6 separate regions of the Homo sapiens genome follow, and all the other regions are linked to region 1. The links are contacts of gene promoters, found by promoter capture Hi-C in blood cells and fetal thymus (Javierre and others, 2016). All regions are on one chromosome and are shown on one strand. The core of a region is centred on a gene start or on the middle of the fragment in contact, and the rest is flanking DNA. Distances in the headings are between cores, read along the strand shown. Region 1 holds the start of JAK2 (Janus kinase 2). Region 2 overlaps INCR1 (interferon stimulated noncoding RNA 1). Region 3 overlaps INCR1 (interferon stimulated noncoding RNA 1). Region 4 overlaps ERMP1 (endoplasmic reticulum metallopeptidase 1). Region 5 overlaps PDCD1LG2 (programmed cell death 1 ligand 2). Region 6 overlaps INCR1 (interferon stimulated noncoding RNA 1).

Region 1 (4,724 bases), core at 318-2,817:
TTAAAGAAACCATTAAGTGCAAGACAGACCTGAAGAGCAGCATCAGTTGTGTATGGGGAAACAGGAGCTATGAATGCGTCACTTCATTTAGGTTGACAGAAAGAGGGCTAATACTTGAAAAAAATCCCTACACGATCTGGTGCCAGGCTACTTCTTTGGCCTCACCTCTTACCACTGCCCCCTCCTTCCGTGTCCTCCAGCCACAGTGACCTCTTTCCTGATCCTTGAACTTGCCAAACACTTTCCCTTCTCAAGGTCTTTGCCTTCAGGAGTCCCTCTGCCTGAAATTCTTTTCCCAGATAGTCATGGGACTGGTTCATTCTCATCCTTCAGATCTCTGCTCAAATGTCACTTATTCTAGGAAATCGTTCCTGGCCACCGTAAAATAGCACACCCCCTCCTCACTTTCTACTCCTTTTCTTTGTTATTATGTATATGGCAGCAGAAAACTATGCATTTTCTTAGTGGCAATTACACACCCCGCACATTATGCATTTAAAGCGTTGTTTGTTGTTTTGTCGCTTCCATCAGAATACAATCCAGTAGGGCAAGGAGTGTGTGGGGTCGTGTTCACCTGGTATCTCTGGGGACCTACAGCCCGGCACCTAGTAGACACTCAGTAAATATTTGAATGAATGAATGAGGCCCTTTGGCAGCCGGGAAGCCCGTCACAGCCGTTGTCTCCACCCTCTCCCGGGCTACACCAGGCCACGCCGGTAAAGTTGTTTCTCCTCTAGGAGAAACATTCGCTAGGCCTTGTTGCCAACCCGCAGGCGGCTGGGCGCTTCATCCCACCCTCACCCCTTTCCAGCCAAGGTGGCTGATGGGAGTCAGGCTCTCGAGGGCGCATTGCCACGAAACAGCGTGTGTGAGCGCGTTGTCCCCGGCCCCCGGCGCCACTTCCCCTCGGCCTAGCAGCCTGGACTGGGGAAGGACGGGTCTGCTGTACCCGGGAGGTGGAAGGAAAAGCCGAAAGCGGAGAAGTGTGCGGGAGGGGAGTCTCCGCGCGGAGGCAGCCCGGCCTCCTCCAGTGCAGGCTGCGCGCTGGGGAGCCAGCCAGGGTGAGTCACTCCCGGCCGCTTCCCTGGAGGGCGGCGGCCACACACACACCCGCCCATCTAGTGAGGGCCGGGCCCAGCGCTGGCGCCTAGCTCCAGCCGGGCACCAGCGTTTCGCGAGGCGCCGCCGCCTTAACTTCCTTGCGCGCTCACGCCCAGGGGCCGTCCCAGGAATCTCCACGCGCGCTCGCCGGCTTCCCGAGAGGCAGCTGCCCTGCGTGGCCCGCGCCTGCCGGTCCCGCGACCAGCACCGAGCGGCGCACGCGCACTGCAGGACGCGCGTCCGGCTCTCCCCCAGCCTCTATCCGGCCCGGTCTCCTGCCATTCGGGGAGACTGCAGGCCAACCGGGAGGCTGAGTTCGAAGCTAGCAGGGCGGCGAAGCCAGTGTCGCCCGCGGCGTTGAGAAGACGGTGTGGCCCCGGAGAGGGTGGAGACAACTGTGACGGGCTTCCCGGCTGCCCGAAGTGGGAGTGGTGTGGGGCTGCAGGAAGGAGAGAGGAAGAGGAGCAGAAGGGGGCAGCAGCGGACGCCGCTAACGGCCTCCCTCGGCGCTGACAGGCTGGGCCGGCGCCCGGCTCGCTTGGGTGTTCGCGTCGCCACTTCGGCTTCTCGGCCGGTCGGGCCCCTCGGCCCGGGCTTGCGGCGCGCGTCGGGGCTGAGGGCTGCTGCGGCGCAGGGAGAGGCCTGGTCCTCGCTGCCGAGGGATGTGAGTGGGAGCTGAGCCCACACTGGAGGGCCCCCGAGGGCCCAGCCTGGAGGTCGTTCAGAGCCGTGCCCGTCCCGGGGCTTCGCAGACCTTGACCCGCCGGGTAGGAGCCGCCCCTGCGGGCTCGAGGGCGCGCTCTGGTCGCCCGATCTGTGTAGCCGGTGGGTGTTATCTCTGCCTGGCTTCTGGGTGGGGGGCAGCAGCTGTCTCTCCACCCCCTTCCTACCTTTTGGTCCCGCCTGCCCCCTGCTAGTGGCAGCAAACTTCTGAGCCAGAAAAATCTTCCTCTTTAAGACGACACCTAGAACGAGTCTTGCTGGTGATATTTGCTTCCATTTGTGTCTTATAATTCCCTCGCTCCCGCCTCCTTATTCCTTTTTAAAATTTTCTAGACACTTAAACAGCCTAGAAAAAGCATTTGTTTCCCCTGGATTTATGTGGTAGTAGTTAACTGCTGCTTCTGTTTTTAGGTTTCAGAAGCAGGCAACAGGAACAAGATGTGAACTGTTTCTCTTCTGCAGAAAAAGAGGCTCTTCCTCCTCCTCCCGCGACGGTGGGTGTGCTGTCCTTTATCGCTGCAGTAAAGGCGAAGGTGTCTGGAGCTGGGAGTGCGTGCGTAGGGAAGGTTGGAAGCGTGTGAAGAGAGGCAGGGCTCATTGTTGCTTACTCTTCTGAAAATGTCAGTGCTAAACTTTTAATGTTGATCTGGGAGAGTAATTTTGGGGTGTTTTGTTGTTCGTCTTGGATCCTTTAAGAAACATTTTTTTGTTGGCTTTACACATAACGTGACTTTGCAGAGAAACGAAAAACGTTGTCCATTACCCTTTCTTCTTAAGCAGCCAGAGATTCTTAATCCTTTAAAGAGGAGTATTTCCAAGCAATAAGAGATAGCTTTTGGGAGAACACGTTAGCTATTCTTGCTGGGGTTTCTGCTACCACATTGAATGTTTCCTCATGGTTTTATCTGCCTAAGCTTGCTGTGTCGGTTGAATTTACCCAGTTTGTTTTCCAGTAATTACTAATCTGTTAGGAGAAACTCCATTTCTCTGAATGAAAGGGTAGGAGCGGCTGAGTATGGAGAAGGAAACTGGAAGTGGGAATAAGGGAAATGATTGCTTTTGGTTTCATAATAAGTTTGTACAGTGAGTTGTTGGGCTACTGCAAATAAAGATTTTGTATCCCTTCTCCAGAATGCTTGGGACCAAAAGTGTTTTGGATTTTTTTTAAAAATTTTGGAATGTTTGCATATACAAAATCAGACATCTTGAGGATGGGACCCAAGTGTAAATACGAAATTCGTTTGTTTCATATAGACCTTATTCACACAGCCACTAAGTCATTTGCAATATTTTTAATACGTCTGTGCATGAAACAAAGTTTGTATTAAGTACCTATGCGGGGAATTTTCCCCTTGTAGCATCATGTTGGTGCTCAAAATGTTTCAGATTTTGCAGCTTTTCAGATAAGGGATGATCAGCTTGTATTTTGATATAACACCCAGAACATTTGAAGATGAATAATCAATTTTTGGCCTCCCTTCCCCCATCCGCCTCACCTTATACCACTTTAAGTGTGAGAATTATTTGCTTGTACATGCATTTGTCTGTTGGTGTGTAACGTATGTACAGACTGGATGTATCCAGCACTTGCCTTAATAGTACATGTATTTACCTGAATAGGAAAGCTGCAGTACTTGCTGGCCAGAAGAGCACACCATGCTTGTTTTTGCTCTAACTGAATATCCTGTATTTGCAATTTATAGCAGTTTTAGGGACTCATTAGGGAATTTTGTGTGTGTGTGCCTTTGGTGATTTGAGACAGGTGTCTCAGATATGGGAAGGGAATATGACATTGTTTCTCTTTCACCTGGCTATTACTGAAAGGTGGGATGCTTTTGAGGCAGAATAGGAAAGTGCATTGGCTTTGGAGTGAGATCTGGATTTGAATCCTGGTGTTCTTGCCACTTAAGAGTTGCATTATTTACGGCTGGTCATGGTGGCTCACGCCTGTAATCCCAGCACTTTGGGAGGCTGAGGAAGGAGGATCACTTGAGGTGAGGAGCTTGAGACCAGCCTGGCCAACATGGTGAAACCCCATCTCTACTAAAAATACAAAAATTAGCCGGGCGTGGTGGTGCACACCTGTAATCCCAGCTACTCGGGAGGGTGAGGCAGGAGAATTGCTTGAACCTGGGAAGTGGTGGTTGCAGTGAGCCGAGATCTCACCACTGCACTCCAGGCTGGGCAACACAGCAAGACTCTGTCTAAAAAAAAAAAAAAAAAGAAAGAAAAAAAGAGTTATATTATTTACGACTCTTTTAGCTTCACTTTCTTATAAGATTGTTGTGAGAAGTGAGTAAGACACATGCAAAGTGGTAAACTGCCTGGCTGTCATAAAAGTCTTGGCTACTATCACGGCTGGGAGGCAAAGGAGATTCAGAGAAGGGCAGAATGACTGCATAAGGTGATCTGCCTGTAACTCGTGTTTCCTCCTTTCTAGTATAAAGAGATAAAGGACTTCAAGGTCTTAAACTGGTGAGGGAGTATTACAGCCTTTGTATGGAAAGGTTTGACTTTGTGTCTCTGCTTAAACCCCCATTGTGTTGCCCCTACCAATTATTGTGCTGCCCCCTTGTGGTTAACTGTGCTAAGACCTTTCTTTTGCTCTTCTCCCATTACATTTCCCACCCTTCCCCACTCCCTTTTAGACCCCTCCTCTTAGCTCCCAGTTTCCCAAACTGTGTGCCAAGGTGCCCAGAGCACCTCAGGCTTGAACTTGTGTTTTGAGTTGGTTCATGGTTTCAATATTAGATACCTACACCCGTTTCTACAATGTCATGTCTTTGTAAAGATGTATTTTCAGAGGTTGCTCCGATAAAAAGCAACTACTACATGAAAATGAATGTAGAACAGGAAATGACAGTGTGGTATTGTCCAATTTGATTCTAAGGTTTGATAAG
Region 2 (4,450 bases), core at 1,388-3,887, 590 kb after region 1:
TAAGCCAAAATCTTTAAAAACTATTTATTTTATTTTATTTTATTTTATTATTTTATTTTATTTTGAGACAGGGTCTCACTCTGTCTCCCAGGCTGGAGTGCAGTGGTACAATCATGGCTCACTGTAGCCTTGACCTCCCAGGCTCAAGTGATTCTCCCACCTCAGCTTCCTGAGTAGCTGGGACTATAGGCACATATCACCATGCATGTGTTACCTCAGGTCTGGTTTCTATTATACAGATCAAGTAATGCTTTGGCAGGCTACACATCTATTATCTATTTAATTCTTTTTTTGTGTGTGTGTGTGACGGAGTTTCACTCTTGTTGCCCAGGCTGGAGTGCAATGGCACAATCTCAGCTCACTGCAACCTCCGCCTCCCGGGTTCAAGCGATTCTCCTGCCTCAGCCTCCTGAGTAGCTAGGATTACAGGCATGTGCCACCATACAAAAATAATTTTGTATTTTTAGTAGAGGCGGGGTTTCTCCATGTTGGTCAGGCTGGTCTTGAACTCCCAACCTTGGGTGATCCACCCACCTCAGCCTCCCAAAGTGCTGGGATTTCAAGCATGAGCCACCACGCCCGGCCCACATCTATTTAATTCTTAGAGCCAACCACCACCAAAGATTATTCCTGCTGGTAAAAAATGCTGATCGCTACTCTGGGATCTCATCATCTACATTGAGATCAGGCAGATTTTCCCACCACATCCTTGGCCTATAGAAAGCAGCTGCCTGAACATGTTCAAGGGTGCTGGGGCTTCTCCCATTAAAGCATTTTTCAATGCTTTAGAGAAGAAACTATTCCTTAGGCTCTTTCAGGACCAAGTGTGGTGAGGGAAGAGGCACAGTTACATATAATAAATCACTCCTTTATTTCTATCTCCTTAGAGATTCTAATGGCTTAGGCCATTAGAATCCTTCCTATACATTATTCCAGAGAAATTCTGGCAACTCAACACCATTAAATGTAACCTACCAGTGAGTCCAAATTTCAGCCAATCAACTAAGCAAATAGTGCCATTCACAGCTGCTCTAGCTAATACATTTGTTTCAGCTAGCTTTTGTTGTATAACAAACTATCCAAAACTTAGTGACTTAAAACAACTGTTTATGTTTTTATGATTTTATAGGATAACAATTTGGGCTGGGCTCAGTGGAGGCAACTCATTTGTGCTCTACGTGGTGTCAGTGGGATCATTCATGCATTTGCAGTCAGTTGGCAGTTTGGCTGCCAGATGGCTGGTCTCAGATGGCTTCATTCATATCTTCCTATTGGTGCTGGCTGTTGGTAAAACCACGTATCTTCAGTAGGTTAGTCCAGGCATCTTCAACATAGAGTCTAATCCAAAAACAGCAAAAAAGAAAGAAAACCCCAATGTGCAAGTGCTTTCCAAGTCTCTGTTTGTATCACATTTGCTAATAATGTTCCATTATCCAAAGCAAGCACATAACCATGCCAAAAATCAATGTGTAAAGGAATTACATGAAGGCGTGATACCACTACTGTAATCATCTACAACATTAAGTCCAAAACTATCTGGAAAGTGTAGTATATCAGGACTACCTTAATTTGGCCCCAGTTCAATGTTATCTTCTGTGCTCCTGGGTCTAATACCTTTAGAATTCATCCCCATACATACTAGCCTGGTTTCCTCTAATGTTAAGTTAACAAAATCTTATGATTCTTTTGAAGTATAAGACTTTTCCTGCTGAGCTAGACTCTGCTCTTCCCACCTCCGTATATTCCGGGAACTGACTCTAAATAAAGGCCATGAGAGTTGGGAGCACTGGGGCTGAGAAAGAATAGGGATCTCCCTTGCAAGGCAAGTGCCTCATATGGGCTTATTACAGGCTTTCAAACAAGGAAAGGCTAATATCATTAGACAAGAAATGAGAGGCTTCTTCCACTATCAAGGGAAACTCAGGGATGCTTGGGGGTTTCAACATTCTCAGTTTCATCCAAATCCACCAAAATGTCCCCATTCCTAGTCTCAGAGTCCTACTCCTTTCAAATTACTGAGAAAACTTTCACATATGAGACTTAGCCAGTCTGTGAATGATTGATTTGGGTTGAATTTTTCAGTCATGTCTTTCATGTCTAGTGATTCCTGTAATTAGAAGGAATAAGAGGTACTTTCAGGGCAGTCTTAGAAGCCCTCTGGTGCTCTGAATATGATTTGAGGTGAAAGCCCTAAACTTGTTAGTTTCTTCCTGTAAGCACCCTGGTGCAATCAGAAGCAGCCATCCCACATTACATTCCTTATAATCATCTTTACTACCATAATGGTTAAATGCAACAGCTACTTGGCCTCCAGAAACTTGCCTTTCATTGGTATTCAACCCTAGCAAGAACAGATGATAATTTAATCAACCATGATGTCAATGCATGCCATAGATTACTAGTGGCAAAGAGTTCAGCTCTCAATTCAAACCAATCCAACACTAACAACAAATCAAATCAATCCCAGAATGTCAGAATTTGAGAATCTGTTTCCTATGACCACACCTAGTATCAAGTGCTAGTATCAGCCAGAGTCCAGTCATAAAAATAGAGTGTATTTAATATTAGGAACTTGTAATAAAGATATAAGAAGACTGAAAGAGCAAAAAAGTGGATGCCAAATATTAGAACTACAGACAGCAGCTACCTTTCTACTACCTATTGCTACAGGCATGACACATTCAGGAACTAGAAACAGGAAATAATTCCCCCTCCCACCTTCCAGTCCCCAAGGCCTTCCCATTTACTGAACTTAACAGGAAGCTAGCTGGCAAGGGAGGCTGGCAAATGAAGTTTGTCAAAATTCCAGCCCTGGCACATCAGAGCAGAGGAGAGGAGGATGGACTTAGAGTTGAGAACAGGAGGTACATAACCAACTCACTCCTCAATCAAAATCTATCTGGATGAAGTGGAGACATATCCATTAAGAGATAAAAAATAAAGAGACTATAAATTCCAATTAGATTGTAGCACAAGGAATTGTCTTAAACTCTGTGGCATCTGACCCTGTAACAAGGGCCCAATGTATATTTGTTGATTGGTTTTATGAGAAAAATAAAAATTGGGCATCTGCTTTGACCATGAGCATAGGACAAAATAAACTTATTTATTTATTTATTTATTTATTTATTTATTTATTTATTTATTTATTTTTGAGACGGAGTCTCACTCTGTCGCCCAGGCTGGAGTGCAGTGGCAAGATCTCGGCTCACTACTAGCTCCGCCTCCCAGGTTCATGCCATTCTCCCGCCTCAGCCTCCCAAGTAGCTAGGACTACAGGTGTGCGCCGCCATGCCCGGCTAATTTTTTGTATTTTTAGTAGAGACGGGGTTTCACCGTGTTAGCCAGGATGGTCTCAATCTCCTGACCTCGTGATCTGCCCACCTCAGCCTCCCAAAGTGCTGGGATTACAGGCGTGAGCCACCGCACCCGGGCCTTTAAGTACATTTTGTAGAAGTTGTATCAAAATTCATTGGCTGCAAATGAGAGAAAACCTGATGCAAACTGGCTTAAATTTTTAAAAGATAATGTGTTGGCTTATGTAACTGAGCAGCCAAATGTGCAACTGGGTATAGGGGGTCTAACAAATGTCTTCAGGATTCAAATTGTCTCTATCATTTCTTCACTCTGTTTCCTTTTTGTTGATGCCATTCTCAGACAAGATATCTCCTCATAATTACAAGATGGATGCCAATGATTATTAAACCTTTCAGATTCAAATATTTTACAAGAAAAAAAAGCCAGAGTATTTTTCTCAGCATTCTCAGCAAAATCCTGAGATTTACAGTGGAAAACTTATGTGCTGTGCCCTCTCCAGAACCAGTCACTGAAAGAAAGAGTATGTAAGTGATATCTTACATCTGGAGCTCCACCCAGACCACATGAACTGAAAGTGGAGAGTGAATCAAAGTGACATCTTTTGTGCTAAGATGTTGCAATTGCCCAAATGCATCTGTGGACTTCTACTAGAAGGTATAGCAGAAGGTGTTAGGTGTCTATTATAAGAAAAATATCACTATCATATAACACCCCTGGGGGACATATTTCTAAATTTCAGACAAAATATATTTTCAGTGCGTTGTCTTTCCTGATAATGTATTTACAGCCTGTCATGGGATATGTCTGTTTTAAAGTGCTGGGCAGGGTTTGGACTACATGTTCCTCCTTGTGCTGGGTTTGAAACATTAGATTGCCAATGTCTCATTGCTGGTATCCAAAATGAGGTTTAATTAAGTTTGCCATTATAGCTAATCTCCATACCATGCACCAGACATTGCTCTAATAGCTTCACATGTATGATCTCATTTAAACTTCATAACTTAGTGTATTGTCTTGTCTATTTTACACGTGTATTAGTCCGTTCTTGCATTGCTATAAAGAACTACCTAAGACTGGGTAATTTATAAAGAAAAGAGATTTTATTGACTCACAGTTCCACAGGCTATACAGG
Region 3 (4,167 bases), core at 846-3,345, 630 kb after region 1:
TGCAAACATTTTTGTCTTTACCACACAGGAATCCTCAGAAAACCTCTGAGAACAATATGTTTGCTTGGAGTTAGAGAGGTGTCCAGTTAGGGGAGATGTTGGGACACTTTGCTCCCTTCCTACAGAAGGGATTCCCAAGTCCTACAGAAGAAGATTCCCCTCTAATGGAAAGCAGCACGTAGTGGCAGCATAAGCTAAGAAAACAATCAACTCCTAGGAAACTGTGGAGGACAGTAAGAGCCTGTAGCGCATTACAATGGGCATCCTGAGAAAGTGACCAGGGTACAGGGAGATTCTGCCTTTGGTGTATTATATATTAAATGATGTGGATGGATTAATGTTGTTAAAATATGGAGACTTCTTCCCCCGCCCTTACTCTTCAGCCCCAGTCCCTCCCCTCCTCACCCCCTTCAAAAAAGAAAGAAAAAAGAAAAAGAAAGAAAGAAAATGGTGTTAAAATATGATCCTATTGTTAAATGTTAACTCTTTGATTCATTTATAGCCTTCAACATCATACCTGGGTGATGTGATTCCTTCTTCCCTCTCTTACTTTTACATCCATGGATGTATGCCACAGAAAGATCTACAGCACTGTTTATTTTCAAGAATTCACATGACCCTTTAGATAAATTATTGTTTTCATTTTTGCCTAAGATACACAAGATATTATTCTCCAAGTAAATGTGAAAATACTGATTTCCTTCATTTCTTTAGCAAAGTAATTTTATACATGAAGGATTGAGTAAAAACAAATACCTTAGGAGTTAAAAAAAATGTAGTTAATAAGACAGCCTGACATAAATTATTATATACATTTAGTTGGTGAGAAAATAAGTTTGTGGAAAGAGATGGTATAGTGAAGTTGATAAACTTGGGGATTCTGGGTTCAAGTTTTGACTCCATCACTTTCCAGCTCTGTGAGCCTTGAGCTTCTCTAAGCCCCAATTTCCTCATCTGTAAAATGGGGATAATATGTATCTCATGTGATTGTTGAGAGGATAAAAATTAAATAATGTAAAATGCTTAGAGCAGTATCTAGTACATAAGTGCAGAATAAATGCTAGTTACTGTTATAATTTATGTAACAGTACCAATCATTAGACACAAAGTTCTTTGTGACTAATCCACAATATACCACTAAAGGCACAGATTAATGCCAGTGCCTGGTTTCTAGCACTTAAAAAAATAACAACCTGGTATGACAGATATTAACATTTCCACCTGCAGGTAAAAAAACGGTTAAAGGTAACTTAGGGCTAGCAGGGCAATATGAAGGTGATCAGCAGGGGCCAGGTGGTCAGGTTTAACTTGCCCATAATTGCTATTGAATGACCCAAGGTCACTTCCACTACTTGGTCTTATCTGGTTTTCACAGCACAATTTTTACATCCTTAGACAGCTCTCTCATTAGGAAATCAAGAAAATTCAGATCTGCTGGAGAAGGGATCATGGCCATATCTCCCAGGAATCCAGTGCACTTTTTGACTTGTTTACAAACTAACAGAAGGTTGAGTACAGAGATTCCAGACCATATTCAAAGTACACACCGGACACTTTTTTTTCCTCCTAAAGAAATGTCAACCTTATTAATATGCATGAGACTCATAGTGGATATTTGTTAAAAATGCTAATTCTTGGGCCATACCATCAACATCAAGGACTCCGGATTCAGAAAGCCTGGGACTTGGCCAAGGAATCTGTATTTTAAATATATCTCTAGACAATTCTGATCCAGATGACTGGACCACACTTTGGGAAAACTGATCTCCTTGATAACAAATTAACAATTTTAAAAATAGTACTTATTATTTTTTGATGATAAAAGAAAAATTAGAAAGTGCTCAGAACAGAAAAAATTAATAATTATATTTTCAGGAGATGATGACTGCAAATATAGCTGTCCTAATTTTTTTAAATAAAAGACAATAAAGGAAATAATGTATTTTGGGGGGCATTTGGTAGCCATTTTTCCATATCTCTTTTCAAGTTCTTACATTCAAGTGTATTGGTTGTTCAGTTTCACAGGTATATTCCTTTTATACCAACTCTTAATGGCTTTTATAAATGATTTCTATGTTTGAAATATATATAAATTTACTCTATGAAATCCACTTATATTCTTGTTGGGTCAGGAGATTGGACTGGATGTGTTTAAGGCCCATTCTGACTAAGATGTCATACTTGTAAGATTGTTATAACTCTTTTAAGTATAAGGAATAACCCCATTCAAACTTGACAGATAATTTAAAATTATATCCCCCAAAAGTTAAAGATTTCCTCTTGGGGTTTGACCTTTTATGCAGATCTCCTGATGTGACAGTATATCAAAGGTAGTAACATTTCTCCAAAGGTGATACACAAATGGCCAACAAGTATATGAAAAAATGCTCAACATCACTAATCATCAGAGAAATGCAAACCAAAACCACACCCATTAGGATAGCTATCATTTAAAAGCAAAAACAAAAACAAAGCCTGAATATAACAAGTGTTAGCAAGGATATGGAAAAATTGGAACCCATGTGCACTGTTGGTGGGATTGTAAAATGGTGCAACCACTATGGAAAAGAGTATGGAGGTCCCTAAAAAATTTGAAAAGTAGAAGTACCATATGATTCAGCAATCCCACTTCTGCGTATATATCCAAAAGAATTGAAAGTAGGGTCTCTAAAAGATATTTGCACACCCATGTTCGTAACATCACTATTTACAATAGCCAAGATTTACAACAGCCAAGTTGTGGAAGCAACTCAAATGTCCATGGACGGATGAATGGATTAACAAAATGTGCTATATACATGCAATGAAATGTTATTCAGTCTTAACAAGGAAAGATATCCTGTCACATGCTACAACACTGATAGACCTTCAGGGCATTATGCTAAGTGAAACAGGCCAAGCACAAAAAGACAAATACTGTATGATTCTACTCATATGTGATATCTGAAGTAGTCAAATTCACAGAAACAGAAAGCAGAATGATGGTTATTAGGGTCTGGGGAAAAGGAGGAAAGGGAAGTTGATGTTTCATGGGTATAGAGTTTCAGTTCTGCTAGATGAAAAAAGTCTGTCATGATTGGGTAATGAATTTGACTCTAAGTTCACTGATACATACAGGAGATAATGGACTGACACAATGAATATGAAATTTTGGCTAAATTATTGAAGGCATATTTGTCTGAATAGAGAGTAGGGTGGGAATCTCAGAATTATAGGGTTAAAAATGTCTTGTTCCAACTCCTCTTGCCATTTTAGTAAAGAATACACACTGAAAATGCAGGTATGACTTTTTTTTTTTATACTAGAGAACTGATAGGGACATGGTCAAACACAATTGTTACTGTTGGCTAATTTATGTAGAATCAATTCTGTTTCCAATCAGTTTTCATTTCTAAAAAGACTAAAGTGAAGAGCAAACATAACGACCCTTCCCATTTTGCTTGGTTAGCAATAGTAGGCTGTTTGGCTTTATTTTCCAGTTTGTGCTAATGCTCCAGCCCAGAAAGTCTCACTCAGATCCATTAAGGCTTAACAATAAGCCATCCTGCCTTTAAGGTTAATTAAATGATTTGAACTAATATTTAACACTATGAACTGTGAGGAGAATTGTGGACAAAGTAGACTGGTTAGTCACATATGACCAGTTACTGACATGTTCTTTTCAATTTAAATGTTTACATTTTTTATTAATATTATTTAAAATGTCAACCACATACCAAAGTGGAGCAGATAACACAGTGAACTCCCAAGTACAGTCACACACTGCCTAATGACAAGGATATGTTCTGAGAAATGCATTGTTAGACAATTTTGTCACCCTGTGAACAAAGAGTCTACACCAAACTAGATGTTGTAGTCTGCTACATACCTAGACAATATAACATATTGCTGCTAGGTTACATACCTGTACAGCATGTTACTGTACTGAATACTATAGGCAATTATAACACAATAAGTATTTGCATATCTAAACACAGAAAAGTTACAGTAAAAATACGGTATAAAAGATTTAAAAAAAAATGATACACCCATACAAGGCACTTACTATGAATGGAGCTTGCAGGACTGGAAGTTGCTCTGGGTGTCACTGGATGAGTGGTGAGTGAATATGAAGGCCCAGAACATTCCTATACACCACTGTAGACTTTATAAACACTGTACACTTAG
Region 4 (4,306 bases), core at 1,807-4,306, 850 kb after region 1:
CACAAAAGGAATCTATATAACACTTTACTAACTAACCTTTCTCTACCATTTATTTGCCTTCCTTCAATTTGCCACCCCTCGAGACTCAAGGTCCTTTTCCTTTGTCACTTCTCTAAAAATGTATTGTTTGGTTGAAGATGCTACATAAGCCAGATTTCTAAGCCACCTCTTTGAGATGTACTCATTTTCCTTGAGTATCTCCCATGTACATGAAGTGCATGTGTTAATAAACTTCTATTTGGTTTTTCTCTTTTTAACCTGTCTTTTGTTACAGGGGTCCACTCAGCTAAGAACTATGAAGGGTAGAGGGGAAACTTTTTTCTTTTGTCCCTACATTTGCTGCTAATTCTTGTATATACAGCCTTCTTATATAATGTTCTTAAGCAACCATGGTGTTTATTTGCCGCTTCCCAGAATTTAAGCATCATAATAGTGGGCAAAGAGTGACATTTATTACTGCTTTGAAATGGACATAAAAAAACCACTGGTGGCCGGGCACAGTGGCTCACACCTATAATCTCAGAAATTTGGGAGACTGAGGTAGGCGGATCACTTGAGGTCAGGAGTTCAAGACCAGCCTGGCCAACATGGTGAAACCCTGTCGCTGCCAAAAATACAAAAAAAATCAGCCGAGTGTGGTGGCACAGTAGGAGAATCGCTTAAACCCGGGAGGCAGAGGATGCAGTGAGCCAAGATTGTGCCACTGCATGCCAGCCTGGTGACAGAGTGAGACTTGGCCCCCCAGCCAAAAAAAAAAAAAAAAAAACACTAAACCACTGGTTACCCCAGCAGCACACGAAGGTACTTCTGGCTTATTTAACAAACGTGTGTATACTGATTTTTGAAAATGCAAGTTACATTCTAAACGCAATTGTCAAGCTTTCTAAATGAAGATATTCTAATATGAATCATTTTATCAAGCAAATAAATTTTACTTACATTTTGTATAACTCTAGACGTTCAAATTTGGCCTGCTATAAGTTCGAGTAATCCAGAAGTGTTAATATTACATAAGAGTTAATAAAAACTTTTAAAAATCACTTTCCATGCCAGGTACTATTTTAGCGTTTTACTTATTTTTAATCCTCCAAGCAACACTATTAGGAAAGTACTATTATTTTCTCCATTACACAGATGAGAAACTAAGAAGTTAAGCAATTTGCAAAAGGGAGTATTAATTACACCCTAATATTCTTTTTCCTTTCAAATGTAGCTGAAAGAACTGACTGGCCAGGAAATCCAGCATCTTATCCTAGTTTTGTCTCTGATCAGCGATGACCAGCTAGCTAAATGTACTCCTGTATCAAATGAGGGGTTCAGCCAGATGCCATCTCAGGTCTTGTCTACCACTAAAATGCTATGCCATTGTAAATGCTATTTTCCATCCCTATTTACAATCCCTTTAACCACTGAATACAATTTTCTGAAAAATAAATATTTTAATAAATGGAAGTTCAATTTAGGGGATTCCCATTCATTTGACAAATATATACTGCATCAGGCACTGTCCTAAATGCAAGTATTCTATTTTGCCAAATGATTTTCAGAGAAAGATTTACACATTAATTAGGTACTTTAACAGTATGGCACCCTCAGTGGAGCAAAATTCTCACTTTATAGGTCAACAGAATCTGCTAGAAGAGATATCCGCCAACCCGCAGCCCAGGACAGCTTTGAATGCAGCCCAATACAAATTTGTAAACTTTCTTAAAACATGAGTTTTTTTTTTTAAGCTCATCAGCCATCATTAGTGTATATTATGTGTGGCCCATGACAATTCTTCTTCTTCCAATGTGGCCCAGGGCAGCCAAAAGATTGGACACCCCTGCTCTAAAACCATGCAGTAACCCTTGAAGGCAGGGACTGTCCTTATGTGGTATCCCCAAAGCCTAGTATAACACCCAGCTGAGTAAAACACTTTCTAAGTGTCAGAACCTAACTCCAGGACACTAGGACACACACACTGTCTGGTAACATTGAGAAAGCTGCTTCAGTCTACCAGAAACATTCCAAGTCTTATCACTGGGCTGCTGGCATTAACACCAAAAAATAATATTAATAAAGCACTTAAGAGAAGACAGAATGGTTAGATCCTAAACTAAATGATACTATCCTAATTATCCTGCTTTCCATCACAAAGAAAAAAGGTTTGCCCAAGAAAATGGTCCCCACAATTGCCCAAGTAGCTTGGGGTTATGTTAATAAACTTTCTGGGCTGTGACAAGTTCCAAATGACTAAAAAACAGGTACATACCTGGTGAGTTTGCTACTGAGTCAAAATGACAATTAGCCAAGACAGCATGCTGGGCTCCATCTCTGGGTTCCAGCTTTACCACAACATTGGTGATGTTGTCATAATAGCTTGTAAAACCTCCCAAGAAATCAATGCTAAAAGAGCCTGTGGGCCGTTGTACATCTACTGAAATCTTATGAAGGCTGTTGCTTTGCACTTCAATCAGTTTAATCTGTTCCAAAAGGTAGTGCACGGTCAGAATTTCATTTTCTGGACTTCCTGTAGTCCTGGGGCCAATGGAGGTTATGTGTTCAAGATAATCCCTGGAAGTAACCAAAAGAATAACAAAGGTTTGTAGTTAAAATTGACACTTAGCGTGGGTAACTTTTCCACTACACACCCCTTCCTCCCCAAAAAAGCTTAGTTCTTTGCCTTATATAAAAGGGACCGCCTTTCATTATTTCAGACACCAAGTGAACATCACTTATAAAGTTCCATATTTTTATTGTTGCCTCCCACGAGTTGACCCCTTCAGTTTTCTCCACCATCCCACTCCCAACTTCTCCCCATATCAAACCAATACAAGGACTAGGGATGTATTCAAAACGTGTGACCACTGGCCAGGCACGGTGGCTCACGCCTGTAATCCCAGGACTTTCGGAGGCTGAGGTGGGTGGATTGCTTGAGCTCAGGAGTTTGAGACCAGCCTGGGCAACATGGTGAAACCCCATCTCTTCTAAAACTACAAAAACTAGCCAGATGTAGACTACTATCCGCCTGTAGTCCCAGCTACTCAAGAGGCTGAGGTGGGAGGACTGCTTGAACCTGGGAGGTGGAGGCTACAGACCCGAGATGGAGCCACTGCACTCCAGCCTGGGCGACAGAGCCAGGCCCTGTCTCAGAAAACAAACAAAAAAAGCTAAAGACTAAGCAGGATAGAATATAACTTCACTGTGCATACTCCTGAACGTTACAGATTCTGGGTTAATGACTTTAAGTAGCAGAAACCAATGAGCAAAAATAATCAAGTCAAGAGGTTAAATAAGGCGGGCGGGGGAAACTTTTGATGGACCTAGCCCTCCTAGCATACACCCAAGGTCTAATAACTTCAATTCAGGCCAAAACCAACTGTACCCCTAATGAAAACAAAACTGTTTTTGTCTTTTCACTGCATTCCAAGTGGGGAAAGCTGGAAGTGGGGGTGGGAGACGTTTCAGAAAGTCCTTAATAAGCTTGCAACACTTTGCATTCTAGCAAAAACTTTTTAGAACACAGTAGCTGTTGAAAACTTGACGCCAGCTTAACACTTCATGAGCTTTGACACACCTGGGTTACAATATCTTTGACTTAATCACCTTTCCTAGCATTCTTAAAGGTCTTAAAAAAAAAAAAAAAAGTCAAACCTTACACAGTCACTAATCCAAGGGGCCTAAAGATAAACTGCAGGGATCTGAGAATTTATCAGACTGCATACCAAATTTTGACTGGGCGGTGTTCCAGAAAGAGTTTCTATAGCCTTCAGATGTGGGGGCTGTAACCCTCAGAAAGTTAGAACAGTGCACTAGCGCCTTCCAAAACTCCCCGCCCCCAAAGCGAATTTATACAACAGTCTAGGTACACAAATTTCCATCTGGAAAGCAGAAGGGCTAAGCAAGGTAAAAAGGGGAAGCTGTTCCAGAATATGGGGAGACGACTCACAACCAACCATCTGCACGAAGGGCAGACAGTGGAAAGCAGGTTCAATCTACCTGGCAACCCCAATCTGCACCACGAGCTTAACCGGGGACAGGCAAGCCCCAAGTCCCGGCAATTCAGACCCCAGAAGAAGGACAAGCAAGGTCACCCCACCCCACGTGCAGCCTGGGAGGGGTCAGCGAGTCCCAGCGGTCCGGCAGGGGCGGGTGCACACAGGTGCGGTGCCCCGGAGCCTGCGCAGGAGCCGCAAACGGACGCGCGGGCCGTGCCAGGAGGGAGCGGCCGGTACCTGGCTTGGAGCGCGTCGAACTCCCCGCGGTGTCCAGCGGCCCCGCGTAGCACGAGCTGCTGCAGCGAGAGCTGCACCAGCGTCCGCAG
Region 5 (4,361 bases), core at 1,219-3,718, 580 kb after region 1:
CTTTGAGATGGTCTTTCTATCTGTAAAAGGGGAAGCAGCAAGAGAAGGAACATTTTACAGCTTATTGGCCGAACTTCACTGCCGCTAGTGTGGTTCAACTTGGACTACAGAGAAATCTTCCTAACTGGTTTCCCTGTATTCACTCCTGCTACCTCCAACTTGGTCTGTTCTCACTTTTTGCTATAATAGGCTTTTAAAAATCATAAATCTACCATGTGTCCTCTGTCCAGACCTTCTCCATGGCTTCTTATTGCTCACTGGATGAAGTTCCAACGAGCCCAGGATGGTTTGACTCATGTCTCCAGCTTTAACTGCATCACCATCACCTTCATTGTCTAAAGCTCTAACCACACAGGATTTTCTAGTCCTCAGAGGCATGGCAGTCTTTCAATTCCGAGTTTTCTCATACAATATTGTCTCTTCTTAAAATATTTTTTCTTGTTGTCCACCTGAGTTGGAGTCATCTTTTAAATCTCAGCTAAGCTTATACTTCATCAAGTCTTTCCTAATTCTACCTCCACGCACCACACCCATTACATTAAATCCCCTTATTATATGTTTCCATAGCACCTACTTCTTCTTTCAGTATACTCAGCACACAATCACATGTCTAGGATCTGTTTTAATAGCTTGGACTACCAATTAAATTGCATCCCTTTTAATTTTCCAATTGATTCCTCAAGTACCCACATGCCCATCTTAGCAAGAAGTTCAGTGTCTCCCTCTTATAGCATGTACTTCTCCACCTCCCACAAACTGCCAGAAAGCTTACTTAGCCCACAGGGCCAGTGCTAGGCAGCTAGGTTAGTCCTCCAGAGGGCCCTGGTTTTGAGCAGTTGCTGTCTACTCCGGCCATGCAGAATCTCTGGTCCTTCCAGATGTCTCCATCCACTGTGCAAAGGTAACCTTGCTGGTTCCGATCCCCACACAGACCACAGTGCTACAAGATTACAGTTCTTATGGTTCCCCAACACATGCTCTGTCATTGGTCCCAAAGCAGGACCCCTATGGGTTGATGAGGTAGGAGGAGGTCCCTGCCTTAGCCACAGCTGCACACAGCCAGCCTCTTCCCTTCTAGGCCCTCATGTTGAGCCTGGGACGCCAGTCCTAACTTCCTTCTCTTCAGTTCCTCTTAGGGCCATTGGTATCCTGAATTTCTTAGTCCATTGCAAAGTTAAGTAAAGAAGCAGCAGGCTTGGTCCCTTTCCTTCCAGATGGCTTCTTAGCTCCTGAACAGATTTACCCACCTATACCTCAGTGACTAGCTCTGTGTACTAAAGTGTATTGGGAGGGCAGCCATTATTGGTCCATAAAAGGTCCTGCTTACCATTTTCCCCTAAGAGGAACCATTCAACAGTTTGGGGCTCGAGGGTGACCTGCTGGGCTCTAGAGAAGAAGCTGGCAACTTCTGTTGCAAAATAATGTTAAATTCTGCTTCATCTGCTTGTCTTTACGTTTCAAGAATACAGTAACTGTGTTTCTCTGATTCACCAATATATGCCCAGTGTCTAAAAAATTACCTGGCATATAATAAATGTTCAATGAAATTTTAAACATTGAACCTACTATATGCAGGTGAGTATGCTAGATCTGCTCTGTCCAATATAATAGCCATCTGTGGCTCTTTTTAAGTTAAATAAAAATTCATCAGTCACATCTTAAGTATTCACACACTGTAAGTGCTCAATAGCCATGTACAGATAATTGCTCCTGTATTGGACAGTACAGATATACAACATTTCCATCATTGCAGAAAGTTCTACTGAAAACCACTGTGCTAGACCCTTTACAAACTTCTCATTTAATTTCACAAAAATTGCTTGTGGCAAGGAGAAGTGTCTTTATGCTGGAGTTAAGAAAGTGAGGCTCAGAAAAGTTATATGACTTCCCAAAGTCATACAGCTGGGATTTGAATACAGGTCTGTTTGACTCCAAAACTTGTGGCCTATTTGTTGCAAAAGTGCTTAATACAAATTGGTTCAGTCAATATTATTATCTTTGAACAATGGAAGGAGAAAGTAAGTTTCAATCCAAAATAATTGAGTGACTTATACATTGACTTGCTGAGCCAATGGCAAAGTCAAGTTAGAATCCAGCAGAAGTCACCAGCTACAGAATCTAGATCTTTAGAACATGTCTTCAGATCTTCAGAACAGTGTTTCTTAAACTCTCTTGTGAAGGAACAGTTATCATCATAGGCTGGTAACAGTTCACCTACCAGCACCAGCCCATGAACCAGACTCTAAGTGGCACAGCCCTAGAAGATTGAGCCAGAATTTTACAGAGGTTTAAAGACCAAATATGCTGGTTTATGGTTACCTGTGGCCCACAGAGAATGGCAGCACTAACCTCAGGCATAAATGAGGTACCCACTGAAGCCAACATTCAAGAGCAATTCCTATGGGTTAACCATTGGGCTCCTTTCAAATGCAAACCCTCATGAAAGAGACTACAGTGCTGAATAGAGACCTCCAAATTCCAGGCCAAGCTCAGGATAGTCATGAGGGAATTACTAAAAACCTGGTATATAGGGCAAAAGCAGAATTAGGAATGGACTGATTTCAGGAACCCAGGCAATGGCAGGAGTTGGGCATTAAATCCTAAAAGAGAATCAGAGTGGGAGGGAATATGTGAAATCAGAGGTTAAGAAAAAAGTGAAAACCTATTCATGATTGCAAAGATATGAAACCAACCTAAGATCCCATTGACGAATAAGTGGATAAAGAAAATGTGGTATATATACACCATGGAATACTACTCAGCCATGAAAAAGAATGAGATAATGTGTTTTGCAACAACTTGGATGGAACTGGAGGTCATTATTCCAAGTGAAGTAACTCAGGAATGGAAAACCAAATACCATATATTCTCACTTGTAAGTGGGAGCTAAGCTATGGATATGCAAAGGCATACAGAGTGGTATAATGGGCATGGGAGACTCAGAAGGAGAGAGTAGGGAGTGGCAGTGAGGAATAAAAAAGCTGCATATTGAGTTCAATGTACACTATTTGGGTGACGGGTGCACTAAAATTCAGACTTCACCAGTATACAATTCATCCATGTAACCAAAAACCACCTGTACCCCTAAACCTATTGATATAAAAAAAAAATTAAAAGAAAGATGTGAAATCAAGGAAACTTACTGGTGAGCAGCATCCCATTATGTGAACTTGTGCTTCTGAACCAGTAACTTGAGTTACTTTGAGCCAGTATCAGTCACTTATACCTTAGTGCAAAATTAATTGATCAGACATTCTGACCTGGACCAGGGAAGGCAGGCAGAAGTAGCAGTCAAGACTAAAGCAGAAAAGGGAGAGCTAATTCTGCAGCCAGACATTTCCTGGATTGAATACCCAAATTAGTCCCTCAGCCTTTAAGTGCCTGAGGGCCAGGAGTAGACAGAGGAATGGAAAGTGTGAGACTTCTTTGTTCACACTCTTTGCCTAGGGGCCAGATTTTGCTTTATGCATTACCATCCGAAGTCCCAGGCCACAGTGAACATTTGGGCTTCGCTATGTGGATTTATTTAGATTTACTTTTTGTCCTGCCATATTTTAATCTATAAGCCAAACAGTTTTCTCATTAATCTTATTCCATTTCTGGAATTTTTCCTTTTCAGACACAACAAAAAGACCTGTCACCACAACAAAGAGGGAAGTGAACAGTGCTGTGAGTAAGCATGATTTTTACTTTTCTTTCTTACTTTCTTTTCTCTCTCAGCTTGAATTTTAAAGTAACCACTGTTCTATTAATTCATGGAAGGCAACTGAATAGTTCCAGCTTATAGAATCTTCCTGTTTGGTAGCATTTCAGCGAAGCCTCGTTCTTAGCCCCAGAACAATCATGCCATCTTTTGCTCGGTCTATATTCCTAAGCACTCCTAGATGATACTGCACTGGACCTCTGGTCTCACATAGTTAGAAACAGAGTTAAAATCGAACAGCAAAGAGAAGATATTCAACTGCGATGCAATTGACAATGGATGTTTTTGCAACAAACAATGATTAAGAAGTACATTGTTGTGGGCTCTGAGTCAAGAGTAATATGGGAAAAACACAAGTCTCTTCATGAGGTTGACAGGTTTGGAGCTGGAATCTGTGGAGGAGGAAGGATATGATCTAGGGGTCAGAAGAAGTGGGTTACTAAAATCATTAAGCCTGGTTGGATGAAAAGCTTAGACTCAGGGGAAGCAGCACATGATTGTGGGGGCTGGCAAGTTTGAAATGTGTAGGGCAGGCCAGCAGTCTGGAAACCCAGGCAGGATTTCTACCTTACAGTCTTGAGGCAGAATTCCATCTTTTCTGGGAAACCTCAGTTTTTTGCTCTTAAGGCCCTCAACTGATTGAATGAAGCCAACCTAC
Region 6 (4,424 bases), core at 1,316-3,815, 610 kb after region 1:
TATTCTATGTGCTTTATAAATACTAACTTATTTAATCTTTATAACATAATCCTCCTATGAGCTAGATACCATTATTGTCCCCAGTTTACATATAAGGCACAGAGAGTAATTTGCCCGAAGTCACAGAGCTTGTAAGTAGCAAAGCCAGGCTAAGAGCACAGCAGTCTGTCTCCAGAGTCCATACCTCTAATACACATGACTGTCTCATCCAGCAATCTATTTCTCCAGTTGAAAAATTACATTGATTCCTCCTACTCACCCTCCTCCCTCAAAATACCTACTTCTGTAATTAAATGCCACATCAATAAAGCATATTCTCTAACAACCCCCTTAGGTCCATGGAAGAAGCTGGCTATTTGCCAATGAAGCCTTGTTCACTCCCCATCTGGAAAGGCCTGGTGGCAAGTAAGATTCATGTTACTCAAGGGAGGAAGGGGAGTTTTCCTGTTCATTTAGCATAAAGAGTCTCTTAAGTCAAAAAATTTCCTTCCTCCTCTTTCCAGTGTCACCAGTCACACGTGAGAAAGTCATCTCGGTATCAACTTCACATGATCTGCCTCAAACAAAGACAGTTCATGTGCTCTTGATATAGCATTTCTTGCTTCAACTTCACTGCTAACTGCATGTTTCATCTACAGGGAGAGTTTACAGAAATTAGCATGAATTATATAAACTCTGATACTTGGTGATGTAGATAGATCTCATCAGCTTTCATTTTCTTTGCTGGGAGTGTAATCAACATGATTAAAGCAAAGAAAGAAACTCTCAAGTCATTGTATTAACTATTCTGTTCTCTGGATGAGACAACATAAAACCTTGGGATAGTAGAGCTGGAACAGAAATCCAACATCATCCCCCACATTTCACAGATAAGGAAACAGAGTCCCAGAGGGAATTTGTGATGTACATGATAACACAACTAATTTGTGACTTTAAAAAAACTCCTTTTTGGTTTATTTTTAAGAAAAAGAATAGAAATTAACTAACCATATAGAAATAGCTTATGGAATAAGGTTCATGTGGAGCCACCATTTTTTATTGTCTTACACAGAGGTAACTGCAATTATTACACCCCACCACACTCACCCAGTGGCAGGCCAACTAGGGCCCTAGGGCTTACACAGCCCCATGAAAAGGGAGGAGGGCCTGGTCTTTGGTCCCTCAGGTCATTGGGCTGGTCCTTTGGAATTTGGTAGGCCCTACTGCCCTTGGCAGACTGCAGAGATGCTCCCACAAAGTTCTCTCTTTTGACCACAGGTCCTCCACAAGGAATTCTTGCCACTGCTTTGGGGGCCAGAGCACTCAGGCCAGGCCACCACAGACATCTACCTATGCCTCTCCCACTGCAAGTGTCATAGTCTTTGGAAAACTATGCAAAAGTGTGATAACATCCCAAAGCCTTATAGAACCTACTGCAAACCTGTTCCCCCAAGTCCCTATCCAGGACAGTCTCAGGCATTCTCCTTTCCGTTAGGGTCAGGCCACTTCCTTTCGTCTTCTCCTCCAAACTCCAGTTCTTACCATCACAGAGACTTTCTAAAGCAAAGGTTGTAATGCATTTCTGAGACTAGGAAGCCCTCACCACCCAGACATAAAGCCTGAGCTAATAATCTCTCTGTTTCAGGGAGAGACTATAGCAGAAAACAGAGATTCCTGTTATCCTGAACCAATTATTTGTATAACTGTATGTTTAATACCTGATTCTCTTTGGAGTAAAAATTTCATGAATTGAGTATTAGGATTACGTTAAGGTTGCAGTTGGCTTTAGGATCCCTCTGTCTTATTCACTTTTGCATCCCTGTGCCAGTTCAAGGCCTGATAAATAACAGCCACTCAATACATATTTGCAGAGCAAAGAGAGAAAGAGAGGGAGGGGAGGGAGAGAGAGTGGGAAAGACTAACCAAAGTTCTGCAATGGCCCACAGAAATATGAGTATGAGTTAAGGCAATCTCAAAGGAGATAGAGAAAAAGGGATGGGAATGAAGATGAAAACTATTAAGAATTAATAATCTACAGGGCTTGATAAGAAATTTGATGTGGATGATGTGGAAGAGACCAGTCAAGGATAATTCTGAGATGTGTTAATTGATCCACCTGAATGTGATGTGGGCTTGTGAGAGGAAGATGGGGTTTGGTTTTGTTGGTAAAGGATGGTGAATGGTGGAGGGGTTATGGACAATGAATCCAGTTCAGGAAATATTTGTGGGTCTCACTGTTTTAAGTATATGTGAACAGGAATATCAGAATGAAACTGTGAAGTGGGTGAAGTTATCTTCAGAAACTCCCTTTCATTTAGGCCCCATTTCACATATCAAGGGATATCACATATCCCTAATTATCTGCCCTAATTTCCTATCAAGAAGTGATCTGATGATCTCACTTACATAAAAGGTAAACTACTGATGAAATAGGAGATAGCTCTCAGGCTGTGTTTTAATGTTAATAATGGAGCACAGCCACAAGCCAAAAGAATGATAAGAGCACTACTAATAAGAGTCAGTGCTTATATGGCCCTTAACATGTGGCAGGCACTTAATGCCCTTAGCAACACCATGAGGAACTATTTTATATATGAGGAAAGTGAGGCACTGAAAGGTTGTGACTTGTCCAATGTCAACAGCTAATAAGTAATGGAGTGGAAAATACAACCTAGCATTGTGGCTATACAATCCATGCTTTTAACCATGATGCTAGGAAATAAATGTGTAAGGGTGAAAATTTTAAGAAGAGTGGAAATGTGCAGTAAATTTTGTGGGGGTCCCTCAGCAAGATTCAGATCACTCCAGTCTCATAATGAAGACTATACAGGTCACTCAAGTCTCACTCTACTAACTGAGTGTTAGTAGTGTTACTAATGACATAGACTCTGCCAATGACTGACTTTAGACAACTTAATCTCTTTCTGTTTCATTTTCCTCATACATAAAATAAGGAGAAATAACCTACATACAAGGTTATTCCTTAAAGCAACATTTGTAAAAGTAAGTGACTGGAAACAACCTAAATGTCTGTTGATAGAAGGCTGGCTAAAAATTGTGCACCTATAAAATGGAATATAATGCAGCCATAAAAAGTAATAAGATTAAATTATTTCAAACAAAAGAACAGCCTGAAAAAATCAAGTTGCAGGCATAGATAAGGGAAGTTGCTCAAGAGATAAGGGGGCTTGACTAAGACATCCCCTCAGCTGCATAGATAAGAAAGACTATACAGGAGACTTGCCCAGACATACCTGCAATGGAAAATTCTGTCCCCTGACACATGTGCAGTAAGGGAAACGAAGCAACATGGAGTAATTCAAGCTAAGAGCCCACATCCACACTAGGAAGATGGGGTGGAATTACCAGAAATGCACACCTTATGCAAATGATATGACCAGCCCCCTATCCGTTTCTTATAAAAGCCTCCGTATCCAAACTGTGAATTGGCAACCTATCTTTCCAGGATCCCTCTCTGTAGCAGAGAGCTATTCTCATTCTTTCACCTATTAAATTTCTGCTCTAAACCCGAAAAAAAAAAGGTAATAAGAAAGACCCCTACATACTGCTATAGAATGATCTCTAGGATATACTATTATGTGGGATAAAAAACAACTACAGTGCAGAACAGGACATATAATATACTACAATTTGCACAAGAAAGGATAAATGGACTAGATATATTCCTTTATGCTCATATTGCATAAATACAGGAAACTTCTAAAATTGGTTGCTTCAAGAGGAGAACTGAATTGGCGTGGGACAGAGAAGTGAGGAAGGAGAACGTACCAGTTAGGATCTCAGCAGGAAATATATGGCATATTCAAAAGGCGTCATCGAGGAGTTGAGTGACAGAATTATTTACAAAGTTGTGGACAGGGCTAAGGCACCCAACAAAGGATGCTGACACTTTCCAATGGGCAACCTACAGAGGGGAATCATTATCATACCTAAGTCCTAAGGATGAAGAAGGGGAGTAAGTGGTTACTTGAATCCAGAGAGAGAGAGCTATAGGTATAAAAGGGGCTACGGGACAGAAGCCATAGCTCTTTCCTAGATGAAGTCAGCCACTGTTCATCCATAGCCCAGCAGGGAAGGCACTGGGGGAATAAATAGCCTCACCACATTCTCCTTCTGCACTTGGATCTCTGGACATCCTTAGGGATGAGCCTCTTGGGGCTCAAGGCAGAGTGGAGAGTAGATCTGAAGGCATACAGAGAGAATATCCACTGCACAGACTGTACAGCATTTTTACTTTGTAAACTTAGAACTATATAAATATGTAACTTATTTGAAAAGTAGAAAATGGCGGGGCCCAGTGGCTCAAAGTGCTAGCTTGTAATCCTAGCACATTGGGAAGCCGAGGCGGGCTGATCATCTGAGGTCAGGAGTACAAGACAAACACGGTGAAACCTCATCTCTACTAAAGATACAAAATAGCCAGG

The links. Contacts are between HindIII fragments. The CHiCAGO score rates a contact against its expected background, and 5 or more counts as called.
Region 2: a fragment that was not itself captured here is called in contact with the fragment with the promoter of JAK2 in region 1 in 2 of 17 cell types (M0 macrophages and neutrophils); the score reaches 5.3 in M0 macrophages.
Region 3: a contact is called between a fragment that was not itself captured here and the fragment with the promoter of JAK2 in region 1, in 8 of 17 cell types (M2 macrophages, monocytes, M0 macrophages and 5 more). The highest score is 8.6, in M2 macrophages.
Region 4: a contact is called between a fragment that was not itself captured here and the fragment with the promoter of JAK2 in region 1, in 1 of 17 cell types (naive B cells). The highest score is 5.3, in naive B cells.
Region 5: a contact is called between a fragment that was not itself captured here and the fragment with the promoter of JAK2 in region 1, in 2 of 17 cell types (M2 macrophages and M0 macrophages). The highest score is 5.9, in M2 macrophages.
Region 6: a fragment that was not itself captured here is called in contact with the fragment with the promoter of JAK2 in region 1 in 8 of 17 cell types (neutrophils, erythroblasts, M1 macrophages and 5 more); the score reaches 15.2 in neutrophils.

Annotation. Positions count from the first base shown.
Region 1 is chr9:4,983,705-4,988,428 of GRCh38, forward strand. JAK2 (Janus kinase 2) reads left to right here and starts at 1,568. Exons shown (of 25, transcript NM_004972.4): 1 at 1,568-1,926; 2 at 2,236-2,318. RefSeq lists enhancers at 619-1,452, 1,381-1,520, 2,321-2,370 and silencers at 1,101-1,150, 1,191-1,270, 1,661-1,990. The HindIII fragment of the contact is 8,817 bases long and covers 1-2,736 here.
Region 2 is chr9:5,576,174-5,580,623 of GRCh38, forward strand. The region is part of intron 1 of INCR1 (interferon stimulated noncoding RNA 1); the gene reads right to left. Among named protein-coding and RNA genes, the nearest start is that of RIC1, 51 kb to the right of the region's middle. The HindIII fragment of the contact is 7,807 bases long and covers 1-4,450 here.
Region 3 is chr9:5,614,968-5,619,134 of GRCh38, forward strand. The region is part of intron 1 of INCR1 (interferon stimulated noncoding RNA 1); the gene reads right to left. Among named protein-coding and RNA genes, the nearest start is that of RIC1, 12 kb to the right of the region's middle. The HindIII fragment of the contact is 9,723 bases long and covers 1-4,167 here.
Region 4 is chr9:5,828,473-5,832,778 of GRCh38, forward strand. ERMP1 (endoplasmic reticulum metallopeptidase 1) reads right to left here. Exons shown (of 15, transcript NM_024896.3): 1 at 4,218-4,306; 2 at 2,255-2,556. Among named protein-coding and RNA genes, the nearest start is that of ERMP1, 2.5 kb to the right of the region's middle. RefSeq lists a silencer at 4,212-4,306. The HindIII fragment of the contact is 813 bases long and covers 2,651-3,463 here.
Region 5 is chr9:5,559,543-5,563,903 of GRCh38, forward strand. PDCD1LG2 (programmed cell death 1 ligand 2) reads left to right here. Exons shown (of 7, transcript NM_025239.4): 6 at 3,620-3,669. The region is part of intron 1 of INCR1 (interferon stimulated noncoding RNA 1); the gene reads right to left. Among named protein-coding and RNA genes, the nearest start is that of PDCD1LG2, 51 kb to the left of the region's middle. RefSeq lists a silencer at 3,622-3,721. The HindIII fragment of the contact is 3,406 bases long and covers 766-4,171 here.
Region 6 is chr9:5,595,916-5,600,339 of GRCh38, forward strand. The region is part of intron 1 of INCR1 (interferon stimulated noncoding RNA 1); the gene reads right to left. Among named protein-coding and RNA genes, the nearest start is that of RIC1, 31 kb to the right of the region's middle. The HindIII fragment of the contact is 9,312 bases long and covers 1-4,424 here.